Linked DNA regions of Homo sapiens: regions 1 and 2 are each linked to region 3. Evidence: promoter capture Hi-C in human tissues and cell types (Jung and others, 2019). All regions are on one chromosome and are shown on one strand. Each heading gives the region's core, a stretch centred on a gene start or on the middle of the fragment in contact. The rest is flanking DNA. Distances are from core to core; before and after follow the strand shown.

Region 1 (4,063 bases), core at 383-2,882, 920 kb after region 3:
CCCTACATCGAAGAGTGTCTTCTTTATGAAGACTCAAAGGAAAACTCTCTCTGAATTTCTTACCAGAAATAGCTCTGCTTTCCCTAAGCAACTGTTTAGTTTATTTCTCATGGACTCTGAGGCCTATTGCGTTGATATTGTTCCTACTGTGTTGCTTATTGGAAAGCTTAGAGGTGAATATTTAGCCCATTTCTAGTAATTGAGTAGGACCTCGAGCCATCTGTGAATGAAACTCAGCCCTGGTTTTAGCTCCATCTTTCCTACCCCATTGTCTGTTTGTCTAGATGTCTTCACTTTGTTAAAAATATATTTAATTTTGACAGATTTTTAAACTCTGCCTCAAATCATTAGAATAAAGCTGAGTAGAAGTGATGTTTTATGGTGATGAAAAAATCCTTGGGTAAAAACATGAGTTACCATTATATCCCATATCTGATTGCATAAATCATGGAAGCACACTTTTGGTAGACAGATACACTCATGTAACACACACCATCATAACATAGAATGCCTTCATATCCCTAGAAAGTTACCTGGCAAGTAGGTGGGCTTTGGCCTTGGGAGTCAGCACACCCACTTACTGGCTGTTGATCCCTGGATATACAGCCTCAATGGGCTGAGCCACAGCTTCCTCCTTGGCCATCATACTCCTGATGTGTTTGTGATAAGGATTTGGGGCAATGTGTAATACGTGCCTAGCACAGTGTCTACAACGAAGCACAATGTCTGTCTACTATGCATTGTGTCCAGGGCACACTCACACCTAGAGACCAAATCCACACTGTGCAAAATATCTGCACACAATGGAAAGAGATAGAGGCAAGCTTTCACATTTAATTTGGCAAATAATCGGATTTATAGAAATATCTGGATTTTTGTTTTATTCCTCTCTTTATATCTTGTCAGTTCTGTCTCTCTGTAGAGCCCTGACAAAAATGGAGCCCAGGGTAGGAAGTAGTCAGCTCTTCCTCCTGAAGCTTCACTCCATGACACCCTGGTGACCTCAATGGAGACAGCTGTCCCAAATCATATTAGTTAATTGCATCTTGTACCAATTGAACATGATGACTCTTCCCCAGGCTCTAACAATCTCTTCATTGAACAACTTGCTTGTCAGATGCTTTGTCTGTTTGTATTGCTACAAAGAAATACTCAAGTCTGGGTAAGTTATAAAGGAAAGAGGTTTATGTTGTCTCCCAGTTCTGCAGGCTGAACAAGAAGCATGGTGCCAGCATCCACTCTCTTTCCAATGAGGTCCTCGGGTTGGTTCCATACATGATGAAAAGTGAATGGAAGCTCGTGTGTGCAGAGACCACGTGGTGAGGGGATGGGGAGTGCCAGGCTTGTTTTGACAACCAGTTTCTCAAGGGAGCTGATAGTGTGAGAACTCACTCTTCACTGTGAGGACAGTACCAAGACATTCATGAGGGATCTGTCCTCAGGATCCAAACACCTCCCCTTAGGCCCCCATCCAATATTGGGGGTCAAATTTCAATATGGAGTTTGGGGGACAAACATCTAAACTATAGCAGATGCTTTTCCTGCTACTAAAAGACACAGTTTAGCTGTGTTTGGCCACCCTTCTAGAGCTGATTAGAAATCTACTCACCACACAAGTATACACTGACAGCTTTCTGGGGAGACCTTGGTTATTGCATCCAGAGTTTATATGATTAAATTATAACCCTTGTCTTCTGTCTTCTCTTCCACCCCACTCCACCAGTTTCTATATAGCATCCGTCTGTTTCTATATCCTTTGTAAAATGAGATGCCTCAAGACCATCTAAAAACAGTGCCTGTCTGTGGCTGGTAGATCTTATGCATTGGTAGAAAAACATTCAGCCTGTGGAAAGGAGAGAGCAAAATTAACTTAGATGCTAAATTTTATCAGAGCTAAATTCATATTCCCCTACGGTTGGGGCAGGAAAGTCAGGTACATTTTACAAGTTCAGAAGGAAGAAAATTCTTTGTATTATTGCCTCTCAAGTTAAGTCAAATATTGGTAGCCTGGACTGGCTACATAAAATAAAATCTCATCAAGCCACAGTCAACAACTCTGAAAATAATGCTCCAAACACTACGGTTATATAACAAGAAGAATCCTTGTGTATGAACTGAATTAGACTTCCTTTCTCCAGGGAAATGTAATGGAATTAAGTCTCCTCTGTTCCCATTTAGAAGTTCATACATAATCATAGCATGTTATTACACAGACAGAAAATGAAAACTTCAAAGCCAGAGCTGGTACACAATGCAATTTATTTCTACTGGTAATAAATTGCCCCCTAGGTTATGGAAGAAGAATATGACGATGGAGACTAAGAAGAAACTAATGTCCTTTCTCAAAACATTGCAACAGCTGTGCCCATCTTGTGCGCCTCTCCAGAACTGACAGCATTGTTGCTGTTTTATTCCTTCAAGTGTTAAGTTCACCAACATCTGCTGATGGAAAGATGACAAAATATCTCTTGATCTCTGCCAAATTGGCCTGTGGATAGACACTTTTTAAAGTCATAAACTTTTTATCAGCCTATGCAGGATATTATTCTAAAATTTATTGTAGGCCGGGCGTGGTGGCTCACGCCTGTGATCTTAGTACTTTGAGAGGCTGAGGCAGGTGGATCACCTGAGGTCAGGAGTTCAAGACGAGTATGGTCAACATGGTGAAAACCCGTCTCTACTAAAGATACAAAAAATTAGCCAGTCATGGTGGCGGGCGCCTATAATCCCAGCTACTCGGGAGGCTGAGGCAGGAGAATCACTTGAACCAGGGAGGCAGAAATTGCAGTGAGCTGAGGTCATGCCATTGCACCCCAGCCTGGGCAACAAGAATGGAACTCCATCTCAAAAAATAAAATATAAATAAATAAATAATAAAAATAAAATTTATTGTAATAATTAAAAATTTGATAGAAAGCATTAGCCAAGACAATAAGCCAATCCATCAACCTCAAGAAAGCCAGGCAAAATCTTTCGAATTTCTTTAATACACTTGTCATGATGATATTGGGGAAGCCTGGCTTGAAATCCAAGTGGCCTTCTCCAATTCTTAGCCCTGTCACTTTTTACCAGGGTTTGAGCTTTGATAGTTTGCTTAACATAACTGGGTCTTGATTTCATGGAGAAAATGCTACATGTTAGATAGAGGTTTCATGGGAATAAATTGAAATACTGCATGCATGACACCCAAGGGGCATCCGACACAGAGAAAATACCTGAAGCTTAGTCCTCTCCCCAACCCCTCTCCTCCCTGTACTTTGCTTTATGGTATTGAGTCCTGAGTTTATCTCTGTGAAACACTGTTGCAAATAGACTTCTAATTCCAGATGGTTGCCTAAACTCAAGAAATCCTATTCTTTTGTTCCAAAAAGTTATAATGCTTTAGATATATCAAAAAAGAAAAATAGCCCATAGCCCAGCTACGATGAGTAGGAACACTCAATATTGTAACGATAAGCTCCTCAAATGCAATCACAACCAAAACCCCAACAAGCTTTCCATTGTGTATGTGGTTGTAGGTTTCTAAAACTTAATGGATGAGTAAAGTAAGGTTGGAAAAGACAGTCCTGAAAAAGAAATAGAAAGTAGAGAGAGTTACTACACCAGATACTATTAAGCTGCAGTAATGAAGACTACAGAGGTATTTGTTCAGGACTGATGAGCTGATGATGGAGCAGAAGGAAGCCCAAAACAGGCTCACACAAATAGATGCACTGCAGGCCCCTGGGGGAGGAAAGGACTGCTTCGTAGGTGGAGGTAGACAATCAGTGATCTGTATAGAAAAGTGAAATAGAATACCATCACTGCAGACGCAAAAATGAAAGGAAGGAAAAGGTATGGTAGATTATCCTGTGCTAAGAAATAGCTGGAAAATCTTACTGATGTGGCACAGCAAAATGTATTTCTTGTTCATGCCACTTTTGCTTTGGCTCCCAGAACTCTCCAGGGCCACCTTCTCGGGGCTGCAGCCCATCACTCCAGGAGGTGCTGATCTTGTGGCAGCTCCACGTCAACACATGCTTCCCCAGATGTGGCAGCCATGGGCGTGAGCACAGGAAATCAC
Region 2 (3,805 bases), core at 1,044-3,543, 780 kb after region 3:
AAAAAGTCCTCATTAGGGGTCCCTGGGTGATGGAAATGCCTTGCATCCTGACCGCATCAATGTCAATATCCTCGTGTAATATTGTACTATCATTTTGCAAGATGCTACTTTTAAGTGAAATTAAGTAAAGGACACACAGGATCTCTCTGTATTATTTCTTACAATTGCATGTGAACCTATAATTATTTCAAAATAAAATTTAATGTAAAAAATAATTAGAATGGCTAAAATGAAAACGATGGAAAATACCAAGGAGTGGCAAAAATGTGGAGTAATGGCATTCTTATGCAGTCCCAGAGAAACGGTAATGTATCTTTCTGTACAGTCAATTGACATTTCTCTAAGGTTAATTAACACGGGTATCACACCTTGTTAAATGTTTGGCAGTGTCTATGAAGTGGAAATGTACAAACTAGCAATTTGCTTCTAGATGCACACCCACCAGGGATGTGTTCACATGTGCCTAGAAGACTGTAGATATCTGAACATGCAAAACCCCCAATGCTCCATCATAGGAGAATGAATGAATTGCCAACAGTATATTTGCCAGTGAATACTAGACAGCATGAGAATGAACAATCAACATTCACACGACACAAAATGCATGAATCGTAGATATATTATTGGGCTAAAGAAGCCAAACACAAGAGAGCACATTTGCGTAGTCCCATGTTCATAGGACTTGAAGATCAACTGTTGAAATTAATCACTGTGGAGAGAAGTGAGGATACCCCTTGGAGGGGCAGTTCCTGGAAGAGACACAAGGGGACTTGAAGCAGCTGATATCATTTTTTTCCTTTATCCTTCTGGTGTAACCTGAATGCGTTCACTTTGTTCACATCAGGCTCACTCTGGATTTTGCACTTTCCTGTGTACATCTTACACTCCACAAAAAATTAGAACCCCAAATGAGGTATGCATCAGGAAAAGCAGCATGATTGTGAGTTACTTTGTGAAGAGGAAAGTCAGGACACCCCGCATTTTTCCACTGTGAGCTTGGCTGCCACATGCAGGAGCATGGGAAGTGCTGTGGAAATTTGCCCCTCCAGATTCACCAGGGCTCTGCCCTTCCTCAGCCTCATTGCTTTGGGACTTTCCGTCCTGGCGACCACCCCACTTGGAACTTGCACTGACCTCATGGCTGCTCTTTCTGTCATTATTCTAAACATTTTAAAGTAATTTTCTGAGGTTATGTGTGGACAATTCATTCATTCCCCAAATGTGGGCTGAGGATCTGCATATCTTGTGCCACACATCGTGCAAGGCCCAGATGGTAAGAAGATGAACAAGACTAAGCTCCTGCCATTGTAATACACACAGCTAGTGAGAAACACACCGCAACAGCCATGTGTGGAAGAACGGAGGGTGGCCCATGTGCTCTGGGCGTGGAGGCTGGTGTAAGCGCCTGGAGAGGTCTGGGGATGAGCCATTGGAGGGGGTCTTGATGATTGATGGGTGCTAGACAGGGCCATTCCTGCATGGTGACCTATCCATGTAGGAGTGGGCTGGAGACTTCAGAGGAGTGAGTCCATGGCAGCAGGTTAAGAAAATAGACTGAAATAGCCTTCCATCCCTACTGTCTCACAGCAAAAAGGCTCCTTCCACCCTGGGAGGCTTGCTTCCTTCTGGTGTGTTTGTGCTTGCACATGGTTGCATTTATTTCCCTTTCACTCTCAAATGCCAGGTGCAGCCTCCTGCCAGGGCTACTGCTGAGTGAGCTTGTGATGGAAAAGGTTAGAGGCTTCAGGCTGAGAAGAGCAGCCAACCTTTTCATGGAGGGCCACACTGTGGCCTCAGAGATCTTCTCTCCCAGCCTCTGCCTCCCAGGAGAATGGCTCCTTGAGGACCCCAGGCCTTGGGTCAAAAGCCAGCTATATGAAGCACATTCCTGGGAGGCCAGGCGCTGAGGCACCAGGGGCCAGGAGGAGACAGTGATGAGGCAGTGGGTACCGAAAGCACTTGGGAAGGTTGCAAAGGCAGACTGACTTGACTTTGCATTGCTGCTCTGTCCAATCACGAATGGCCAAGAGCTATCCTACTGATATTCCCTGTTTTTTTGTTTGTTTGTAAGATGATGGCATGAAGGATTAGTGGTGGAGAATCATATTTGCTCAACCAATGTGTTGATTACCATGGTTCTTCCTGCCCACCGCAGGCCAGGCCCTATGCCCTGCAGTAATCCTGCTTCCTGGGGCTTTCTAATCCCTTTATCTTTTTTTATATTTGAGGCTCTGTTGCCAGGCCTAGTAGAGGCAACCTTATACTCTCGTGATTCCAAATGGCTCTAGGCTACTGGAGAAACCCTGGAAACCACACACAACTTTCCAGGTGTTAAAGAAAAAAATATCCAATGGCATTAGTTAAAGCACAGTAAGGAAGACTTTGTTTGGGACTGCCATGGCAGGCACAGGGATAATAGCAAAGGATCTTGCAGCGAGGGAGAGAGACTGGGCTCAACTCTGAAAACAGCATAGGCAAGTGGAAATTTATAGCCAAGGACCAGGGGGAGGGGTCAGTGGATGGGCAATTACTAAGAGGCTACTTTAGGGGTACAGGGATTCTGGCTAAGCCACCTCACAGGATTCCTGCTGAAGGTAGGTCGGGGTGATAGGTCATCATGGGGGATGGTGGAGCATGGTGAGCCTGATCAGATATCACCGAGGGGGATCAGATATCAGGGGCGGGGAGTTCTCGCTAAATTGACAAAGCAGGGATTGCTAAAACAGATGTCACAAGGAAGTGTAGGAGAAGGTTCAGAAGCCCTAGGAGAAGGTTCAGAAAACTGACTAAAGTTTGGTCAAGCAGAGAATCTTTGTCATAGGTGATCATCCAAACCAAGGACTCAAATCTGTTTGATCACATCCTGCTATGATGAAACACACTCCATGTGTCTACTTAGTGCTTTATAAATGATGGCCACAAACTCCTGTACCCTGCATACCTTGTACTCAATACCTTGTGAAATATGCATTACAATAAAATATTTAAAAGGTTGAGATAAAAATAAAAGCATGTTTTATTACTTTGTTTACCCTGATGGATCAACTTGAGAACACTGCCTTGGAGTATTCTTTTGGGTGTTCTTGGCACCCAAGCCAATTGGCTGGACCTGCAGGCAGCCTCACGGAAGTGAGTGTGGGAGGCCAGAGACTGACCATGCTGCAGGCCTGGTTCAGATCTTCTCTCTGGGGCCTGAGTTTATTTGGTTTCCTTCTTTTCATTTTTTTTTTTTTTGGTTCATTTCTTTTGTTTGTTTTCCATTCTAGACAAGCTCTGAAATGAAACAATACCAGGCCAGTACTATATCCCCGGGAAATGTCAAAATGAAAAATGATCTCCTCTCAAGCTTTTCTTTTCCAGGCAAAATAAGCTCCCTTATTCTGAAACGTCCTCACTTCTCCACCCTGTGAAAAGTCACAGGGTGGAAAGTAACAGTCCAGTTTCTCATCGATGACGCTTCCTGGAAGGAACTGTGCCCTGGGTCTGCTTTGGGCCTAGACTGTGCTTAGAGAAAAAAGGCCAAGTTTATAACATGTTGCTCCTTTGTTTTCCTGCCCCACCCCTAATTCCTCCATCTCTAGCAAGCAGGAGATGAGGTGAGGAAGCCTAAAAATTAGCATTTTGTTTTCTGCTGACATGGTGGCTGATTGTGTGTTTTTTAGACACAGTTATTCAGCTGAAGTCATGGAATATTGACACATGGGGCAAGCTTCGTGCAAGAGTTTCACCTCTCTGACTGTGCCGATAAGGGTATATGTTAACACTCATTCATATCACATTTGTTTTCCTGAAACTCAAGGAAAAT
Region 3 (3,734 bases), core at 133-2,632:
TCAGCTCCATGTTCGCTGAGCACTACCCAGAGCTGGTGGCGGTGGCATGTTCCCATCAGTGAGAGCAGAAGCTGCCCCCGGCCCCTCCTCCAGCCTGCCGTGTCCCCTTGGCTGCTCAGTCGCAGCGTCCGCCCTAGGCCAGGCCTGGGAGCTCGACACAGTGTCCCCCAGCATCACTGAGTCCTCAGTATCCTGACTCACCAGGAGGAGGTGAGAACCCTCCAAGAACCCCTTGGGTGCTCTGGAGCCATCCTCTTGTCAGTGGTCCTGCTGCACAGCCCCCACCTGGGCCCCTTTGGCCAGGCTCCAGCCCCCTTCTGTCCCTGTCTGCTGGGTGGGGGTCATATGACTTGAGCGGGTCACCTCAGCCCTCTGGTGCCAGCTTCCTGGTTGGTTAAATGAGGTGGGGGCCTCCCAAGTCCCCATCAGTATCCTGGTCTGATTCCTGTGCCAGGGAGGCCATGGCCCAGTTCCCTTTGGGGGAGAGCAGGTTGTCCCTGGCTGTGTGACTTGGGCAAATCACCTAGCCTGGCTGTGTCTCAGTTTCCCAGTGCACAGGCAGTGGCTCTTTCCTCCCTGTCCCCCCTCCCCCTGAGTGCTGACCCTCAGGGAGTGGATTTCAGGAAGGGTGAAAGAGTCTGATCGTTAGGGTCCCTGGAGCCAAGTCACAGGACAACAGCCAGCAGGAAGGAATGACAAGCCATCAGATAGAAGCGGCTAACCACAGGCATGTGGCTGCCCTGTCGCCTCCGTCCCGCAGAGGAGCTGCGGGAGACCTGCCTTACTTAGACCTTTCTCAGACCTCTGTGAAGAGCCAGAGAATAGAAGATGCTTCCCTTGCCCCTAGCCTTCTGGGGCAGCCCCCAAACCCTTCATCCCTGTAGCCTGCTACCCCCAAAGGTAGCTGCAGCCAGATGGAGCCCCTTGCCCCTCTCACCACTCCCAGCACCTCTCACCACCGCATGGTCCTGTGGGGGCTCCAAGCTAGGAAAGTGCCCTGGGGAAGACCCAAGGCACCAGTGGCCAATCTCAGGGAGAGACCCCCGGGGAGCGGACAGGGGAGAACGCCACTTACCTGGGGAAGGGCCCCCAGTGGTGCTCAAGACCAGGCAGCAGAAGGCCAGCAGAGTTCCAGCCGCTCGCATGGCTGCCCGGGTAGGGACAGTGCGGGGCAGTTGGGGGTGGCCGTGCAGTGCCTTCTCAGGCAGCATGGGGCAGTTGGAGGCAGTGGTTGGTGCCCGTGCCGAGCCTTCTTGGGTAGATGGCGCAGGGCAGGTGGGGGCAGTGGTCTGTGCCCGTGCCAATCCTTCTCAGGCAGCACGGGCCAGTGCCGGGCAATGGTTTGTGCCTGTGCTGAGCCTTCTTGGGCAGCATGGAACAGTGGGCTGTCCCAGCCCAGGGGCAGGTGCCAGGGCCACAGCATGGAACCCCACCCTGCAAACCACTGTGGGATGGGGCAGGGGCGGGGCTAGGGGGCTGCCTGCGTGGTGCTGGGGAGGGGAGTGTTTTGCTGCTGAATCATTTTGGCCAGAAGCTCTTCACCTTCAGATCTATCAGCCACAAAGCAACCGCTTCCTTTATAAAAGTTTCCGAGCAGCCGTCATTTGCTGGGGGAGGAGGAAGAGACATGAGACCCATGAGCAAATCCTGATGCAATGTTCTACCCCTGAGCCACACACGAAAGAGATGTTGCATGAAAAACATTAGCAGGAATTTTCAAAAGCAAAATCACTTGATTTTCCTTTTTCTTTTAATTACTTAAGTTCTGGGGTACATGTGCAGAACATGCAGGTTTGTTACATAGGTATACACGTGCCATGGTGGTTTGCTGCACCCATCAACCCATCATCTACATTAGGTATTTCTCCAAATGCTATCCCTCCCCTGGCCCCGGATCCCCAGATAGTCCTTGGTGTGTGATGTTCCCCTCCCTGTGTCCATGTGTTCTCATTGTTCAACTCCCACCTATGAATGAGAACATGCGGTGTTTGGTTTTCTGTTCTTGTGTTAGTTTGCTGAGAATGATGGTTTCCAGCTTCATCCATGTCCCTGCAAAGGACATGAACTCATCTTTTTTATGGCTGCATAGTATTCCATGGTGTATATGTGCCACATTTTCTTTATCCAGTCTACCATTGATGGGCATTTGGGTTGGTTCCAAGTCTTTGCTATTGTGACTAGTGCTGCAGTAAACATACGTGTGCATGTGTCTTTATAGTAGAATGATTTTTGAGTATATACCCAGTAATGAAATTGCTGGGTCAAATGGTATTTCTGGTTCTAGATCCTTGAGGAATCACCACACTGTCTTCCACAATGGTTGAACTAATTTACACTCCCACCAACAGTGTAAAAGCGTTCCTATTTCTCCACATCCTCTCCAGCATCTGTTGCTTCCTGACTTTTTAACGATCACCATTCTAACTGGCATGAGATGGTACCTCATTGTGGTTTTGATTTGCATTTCTCTAATGACCAGTGATGATGAGCGTTTTTTCATATGTTTCTTGGCTGCATAAATGTCTTCTTTTTAGTGTCTGTTCATATCCTTCACCCAATTTTTGATGGGGTTGTTTTTTTCTTGTCAATTGTTTAAGTTCCTTGTAGATTCTCGACATTAGCTCTTTGTCAAATGGATATATTGCAAAAATTTTCTCCCATTCTGTAGGTTGCCTGTTCACTCTGATGACAGTTTCTTTTGCTGTGTGGAAGTTCATTAGTTTAATTAGGTCCCATTTATCAATTTTGGCTTTTGTTGCTATTCCTTTTGGTGTTTTAGTCATGAAGTCTTTGCCCATGCCTATGTCCTGAATGGTACTGCCTAGGTTTTCTTCTAGGGTTTTTATGGTTTTAGGTCTTAAGTCCTTAATCCATGTTGAGTTAATTTTTGTATAAGGTGTAAGGAAGGGGTCCAGTTTCAGTTTTCTGCAAATGGCTAGCCAGTTTTCCCAACACCATTTATTAAATAGGGAATCCTTTCCCCATTGGTTGTTTTAGTCAGGTTTGTCAAAGATCAGGTGGTTGTTGATGTGTGGTGTTATTTCTGGGCTTCTGTTCTGTTCCATTGGTCTATATATCTGTTTTGGTACCAGTACCATGCTGTTTTGGTTACTGTAGGCTTGTAGTATGGTTTGAAGTCAGATAGCATGATGCCTCCAGCTTTGTTCTTTTTGCTTAGGATTGTCTTGGCTATGCAGGCTCTTTTTTGGTTCCCTATGAACTTTAAAGTAGTTTTTTCCAATTCTGTGAAGAAAGTCAATGATAGCTTGATGGGGGATATCACTGAATCTATAAATTACTTTGGGCAGTATGGCCATTTTCACAACATTGATTCTTCCTATCCATGAGCATGGAATGTTTTTCCATTTATTTGTATCCTCTCTTATTTCCTTGAACAGTGGTTTGTAGTTCTCCTTGAAGAGGTCCTTCACATCCCTTGTAAGTTGTATTCCTAGGTATTTTATTCTCTTTGTAGCAATTGTGAATGGGAGTTCACTTATAATTTCACTCTCTGTTTGTCTATTATTGGTGTATAGGAATGTTTGTGATTTTTGCACATTGATTTTGTATCCTGAGACTTTGCTGAAGTTGCTTATCAGCTTGTGGAGATTTTGGGCTGAGATGATGGGGTTTTCTAAATATACAGTCATGTCATCTGCAAACAGAGACAATTTGACTCCCTCTTTTCCTATTTGAATACTCTTTATTTCCTTCTCCTGCCTAATTGCCCTGGC

The links. The method cuts DNA at HindIII sites, captures the fragments that hold promoters and counts their contacts. A contact is called where the count stands out against the background at its distance.
Region 1: a fragment that was not itself captured here is called in contact with the fragment with the promoter of CST7 in region 3 in 1 of the 25 tissues and cell types used here (stomach).
Region 2: a fragment that was not itself captured here is called in contact with the fragment with the promoter of CST7 in region 3 in 3 of the 25 tissues and cell types used here (H1 embryonic stem cells, aorta and stomach).

What each region holds. Positions count from the first base shown.
Region 1 is chr20:24,027,435-24,031,497 of GRCh38, reverse strand. No RefSeq gene overlaps it. Among named protein-coding and RNA genes, the nearest start is that of GGTLC1, 41 kb to the right of the region's middle. The HindIII fragment of the contact is 3,450 bases long and covers 1-3,357 here.
Region 2 is chr20:24,165,005-24,168,809 of GRCh38, reverse strand. No RefSeq gene overlaps it. Among named protein-coding and RNA genes, the nearest start is that of LINC01721, 33 kb to the left of the region's middle. The HindIII fragment of the contact is 6,325 bases long and covers 1-3,805 here.
Region 3 is chr20:24,946,917-24,950,650 of GRCh38, reverse strand. CST7 (cystatin F) reads right to left here and starts at 1,382. Exons shown (of 4, transcript NM_003650.4): 1 at 1,076-1,382. The coding sequence starts at 1,145. RefSeq lists an enhancer at 1,667-1,716. The HindIII fragment of the contact is 14,192 bases long and covers 1-3,734 here.